2 separate regions of the Homo sapiens genome follow, and region 1 is linked to region 2. Evidence: promoter capture Hi-C in 16 types of primary human blood cells and fetal thymus (Javierre and others, 2016). All regions are on one chromosome and are shown on one strand. The core of a region is centred on a gene start or on the middle of the fragment in contact, and the rest is flanking DNA. Distances in the headings are between cores, read along the strand shown.

Region 1 (2,700 bases), core at 135-2,634, 510 kb before region 2:
CTCTGTGACTCAGTTTTCTTGTTTCTAGAATGGAATCCATACCTCCTAGGGTTGTTGTGAACATTAAATGAGTTAATACACCTAAAGTACTAAGAGTGGTGTCTAGCTCATGCTAAACATTAAAAAAAAAAAAAAAAAGATAAGGTCTCCCTTCTTGTAAAATGAGAGAGTTAGACCATCTGGGGTTTCACAGTGTCATCCCACAGGTCAGATCCCACCTGGGAGATTTTTGTTTCATGTAGGGATTTTTTTTTTTTTTAAGGTGGACCTTAAATCAGGGCTAGAAAGTTTGCCACAGCTTCCATCATTCTCTATTAGTTATATGTGGCCCTTTGTTCAGATACATGTAGTAACCTTGCTGACCCCTATAGCCATTTGGGTTTTTATCCTCTGGAGATGGTCTCTAAGGCCTTTTCCAGGTCTACATTTCTGTCTAAATTTGTCAGAAAGAGTCCTTGGGCTGTGAGTGCCCAGTAGTGAAGTGGAATCCTCATTTCTCTATTCCAGCCTTTGTCTTCACACATCAGCAGAATATGGGGTCTGTGGCTTTCTTATGTTGCTTAAAGCATTGTACCCCATCCCCCACCCTGAACAATTGCTTTCCGTTTTCCTAGCCTCCTCCCCAGAGTCACTGCACAGCTATGGCACCATCCAGTTACAGGAGAGTTCCTTGGGCTCATGAGTCTCTAAACCTTCCTCTCTGTCTGACTGCTGGCTATGGTGGAAGAATGGGTGTGTGTGTGTGTGTGTGTGTGTGTGTGTGTGTGTGTGTGTGTGTGTGTTTTAAGCCATTTAAAAATAGGTAAAAATTTCCACTTTAACCCAGTGTCAAAAAAAAACCAGTGGGGCATGGGTTTGTTGTTGTTGTTGTTATTTTGAGACGGAGTTTCACTCTTGTTGACCAGGCTGGAGTGCAGTGGTGCGATCTCAGCTCACTGCAACCTCTGCCTCAGGTTCAAGTGATTCTTGTGCCTCAGCCTCCTAAGTAGCTGGGATTACAGGCATGTGCCACCACGCCCAGATAATTTTTGTATTATTAGTAGAGACGGGGTTTCTACATGTTGGTCAGGCTGGTCTCGAACCCCCGACCTCAGGTGATCCACCCGCCTTGGCCTCCGAAAGTGCTGGGATTGCAGGCGTGAGCCACCACGCCTGGCCAGGGGCATGCATGGTTTTATAGGTAGATTAATTTAGACAGTTGGACCTGGGAAGCTCTATAAATCATCTCCCAAGGCTGTAGAAGAGTTAGTGCATTAATCCCAAAGAAATTAGTCACACCCAGGAGGATGTGCCCACTACATTCAGGGAAAGGTAAACATTTTGAGTGTAAGCATCTCTGGCTGGATTTGTGTACACAGAAATCTCTGTAGATGTATTTTTAAGCACTTAAGACCTGGGACTTAATATTGATTGCTTAGTGTTTAAATTAGAAACAGGTTGTGTTTTGCTGGCTGTGCAAAGTAAAAACCTGGTCCCTGTTGACTTGATTATTTCACCATAAATGAGCTGCTTTTCTTGGCTCAGTGCCTGAGTCCAGCAAAGGCAGGGAACAGCGAGGTTGCTATGGCAGTAATGAAGTCTCTCTTGGGGACTTTAAAGGGGATTCTGCTGGCTCACAGTGGTAAAGGAGGAGTACATAATTAGAGAGGCAAAATTTTATGTAACAACATAGTCTGATTAATTTGGGATTCATTCTTCCACCTATATTACTAAGTGAGATTTCTTTTAGTGTTACACAAATAGGGTGGGCACTGCCATGGGCGTTCACACAGGTTTTGCTTTGCCTGGAATCTTCCTGCCTCTCTGGCCTGACCAGCTCTGCTCATCCCAGGTTTGAGGTCGCCTTTAAACCTGAATGCTAATTGACACTCCTGTGCCCCTACTCCCGCTTCTACCTCACTGTTTGCTCCCTATGGTGAAACTCCCCTACCTCACTGGAACTGCTGGCTTTGGGTCTGCATCCACCTCACTTAGTCTCTAGGTCTCTGGTAGCTGGTGCAGGGCTGGGTGCCTTCCAGATGGGCAAGGGGTCAGAAGGCTTTAATATGTGATTTTATAGAGTCCATGCTGAAACCACTGGCTTCTTACCTTTCTAGTCCTTTACTGTTACAGTAAAATAATTACTAGAATGTTACTTACCTCATATACATATTAAGGGTTTGTTTGTATTAAGCCAAAAACTCTCAGAAATGTCCTGTTAAACACTTCAGTGTTTTTAGGGTGGCTAATGTTGAATCCTGTTAGTTTTGTTGAGGTTATTGGGCATAAATATCAAGAAGCCAAAAAGGGAAAAAAAAAGTTTTTCTCTTGAAAAATATCAAATGAAGGAGGTAACCTACTACTTACAAGCCAACAATCTTTCCCTTGCTTTCTTTCATTTTCCTTCTCTTCAGTACAGTGATATCTAAAGTTTCTGACAAAGCTCTGACATACTATCATACATGTCTTTTAAGTTATTCCAGAAAGGTTATTGTACTTACATTGTGGTTTTTATATTGAGAGTATCGTAGTGTGTTCTAAAGCTGTGAAACTAGAGGTGGTGTATATGACAAAACCCCTCTGTAACCCAGACTGCTTCATTCCCTAGGCCTCTCAGTTTCCTAGGCCTGCCAGAGAAGAGTATTTATTATACTCTGAAGATAAGAGAGTTAATTATTATCGGCCGAGGTTCACATTACCATCACTCTCCTGTTTCTCTTT
Region 2 (2,700 bases), core at 94-2,593:
CAGCTGCTCAGGGAGCTCCCATGAGAAGGGCAGGCCGCCTGCTGACCGTGGAGAGCACAGCAAGCCCCTATCCACAGAGCTTTCTTCTCTGTTACTCTGATCATGCCAGAAACGGGGCTACTGGGAAAAGGAACAGGAAGGGAAGAGAAGCTTTACTTGGGTCCTGCTGTATTAGTAAACCCTCCTTCTGCGCCACTAACTGGCTGCTAGGAAATGGGAATGGTGATATTTCAAGAATGAGCCATGGCTAATACTTAGAAACTAGGCTAATTATGTGACATGATGGCCCTGGGCACAGAACAAGGAAGAAGAGGAAGGTAAACTTAGTCTGATTTAATGAAAAGTCCAATTTGGAGACCATTTTCAGAGATCTATGGCCTTCAAAGATCTGCAGCCTGGCAGGCCACTCTCGCACCAGGTCAGGGGAGTGGGCAGCAGGCTCTCTGGGGCTTCATGAATAGGTAAATGTCATCTGCAGCAAGAAGGTGGGGCTCTGATACATCCTGATATTCTTTGCTCATACTGTAATTAGCACATTCCTTGTATATAGTGATTTTTTTAAGAGCACTTAACATGGCCAATCAATCAATGTTCTGAATTTCCTTGTTTATCCTAATAATTAGCAACTCCCTTCCTTCCCTCCCTTCCTCCCTCTCCTCCCTCCCTACCTTTCCTCCCCTCTTTCCCTGCCTCCCTCCCTTCCTTCTTTCCTTCTTCCAAGTGGGACAAATGTGGCCTTCAATGCCCAGCAGCTATCAGTTGTTGCAATTTCTGAGTTAGTGCAGTCTAAACTAATGAAGAAATTGTGAAGATCTCCCCCCAGTTTTCATCACTGTGCTTACATATAGCTGTGCTTCAGTGCAAGCAAGCATGATCTACCTCCAGGGATGTACCGAAGGAGTAGGAAGAAAGCTGACTCAGAAATCCAGGGCCTTCTTCAAGGCAGAGGCCCTGCCTAATACTCCCGCGTTTGATGGTCCCTGAGTCAGAACGGTTTGTTAGTGGTTTAGAGTTGCAGATTTTCCACTCACTTATAAAGGCCCCTGCTGTGCACAGTCACTATGATGAATGAATAACTCAGTTGCATACGCAAGTCTGTTCCCAAGTACCATCTGTTGAGTGAATGAATGAGTGAACAAAAGGGAAACACATTACCCCAATTGTGAATCTGAATAATGAACTTGGCAATGTGATGTGATCTCTGCTCCAGCAGGCCTGGGTTCCAAGTCCAGCAGGGCCCTTGATGTCCTTTGTCCTTCATTCCTGTGCACCTTGCGCCTCCAAATCACATTTGGTACGTCTTTCTTGTAGTGCTGATGGTTATTTATGAGCATGTCCTGGGCTGCCTGTTCTTATTGTAAGCTCTCCAATTAATTGCCTAGTGCTGTGTACCCAATTATCATGTAAATACATGTTGAATGAATAAACAAGTGTGACTCATTCAGAGCTAAACTACGCATGAGAGTAGACATGGCCAGCTTCAGCCAAGAGTGAAAACCAGATTCCCAACTCCCTATAGCCCATTCCCTGGCTCCCTGGAAAAGTGGAGGGAAAACACTTGGGAATGAGCAGGATTCTAGGAGCTGGGAAGCGCCCCTTTCCCCACTGGGAAATTCCATGTGAGCACTCATCGGGGCATTCCCCTGCTCTCATTCTCTTGCTTCAGCTGCTTGGGATCTTTCAATGCACCCCTCCCTGCAAAAAGATGGTGGCACTAGCTGGAAAGTATAGCATCCAGTGCCCCACTTCACTCATTTCTTTCTTCCCTCCTCTCTTGCCTCCACTTTGTCCTACTCACATTATCCCCCACCCCTGCTGCTGGTAGGTTTATTCATCCACTGAAACAAGCTTGATTGAGTTCAAGGCAATTAACATTACTGAGCATCTGTTAGGAACTGGAGACTGAGAGTGGCCTTTAAGGATTTTCAAGGCCAGGAGCAGTGGCTCATGCCTGTAATCCCAGCATTTTGGGAGGCCGAGGCAGGAGGATTGCTTGAGCTCAGGAGTTCAAGACCAGCCTGGGCAACATAGTGAGACTTCATCTCTACCAAAAATACAAAAAATTAGCTGGGTGTGGTAGTGCGCGCCTGTGGTCCCAGCTGCTTGCAGGGGTAAGGTGGGAATATCACTTGAGCCCAGGAGACTGAGGCTGCAGTGAGCTGTGATTGTGCCACTGCACCCCAGCCTGGGTGACAGAACAAGACCCTGTCTCAAAAAAAAATCATCCTCCTACTCCTCACAGGAGAAAGACAGGCAAGCAGCTTACCTAAATACACAATAAAATGTAATAGCTGCTAGATACAATTACAGGCACTACACAGGATGCATCAGGAAGGAAAAAACAACTAATTCTAATTCTGACCAGGAGATACCTTCTCAGTGGAGATGGCATTTGAGTTGAGCCAGGAAGGAGGACTAGAGTTTTGATAACAGTTTGGGAAATGGCGTGAGTAAAGACGTGGAAGCACATGCAGGCAACATTTGAAAGAGCAGAGGGAGTGGCAGGGGACAGGGAGAAGTCCTGGATGGCTATGCGGAGGAATTTGGACTTGATTGGGAGGAGGAGCTCTTCAAATATGACTGCACTCTTTCTTTTCCTCCCTCACAGCTCTGAGAGTTGTCAGGCATTGGTTTGGTTCAGTGATCGTAAACAGGCTGGCTCCCCAAGGGCAGAGATTGCTTTGCCCAACATTATATCCC

What was found. The method cuts DNA at HindIII sites, captures the fragments that hold promoters and counts their contacts. A CHiCAGO score of 5 or more calls a contact.
Region 1: a fragment that was not itself captured here is called in contact with the fragment with the promoter of LARS2-AS1 in region 2 in 2 of 17 cell types (M1 macrophages and M0 macrophages); the score reaches 6.1 in M1 macrophages.

Annotation. Positions count from the first base shown.
Region 1 is chr3:44,994,125-44,996,824 of GRCh38, forward strand. The region is part of intron 3 of EXOSC7 (exosome component 7); the gene reads left to right. Among named protein-coding and RNA genes, the nearest start is that of EXOSC7, 19 kb to the left of the region's middle. The HindIII fragment of the contact is 3,022 bases long and covers 1-2,700 here.
Region 2 is chr3:45,508,202-45,510,901 of GRCh38, forward strand. LARS2-AS1 (LARS2 antisense RNA 1) reads right to left here and starts at 1,344. Exons shown (of 4, transcript NR_048543.1): 1 at 1,156-1,344. The region is part of intron 15 of LARS2 (leucyl-tRNA synthetase 2, mitochondrial); the gene reads left to right. RefSeq lists an enhancer at 1-589 and a silencer at 1,416-1,710. The HindIII fragment of the contact is 1,698 bases long and covers 149-1,846 here.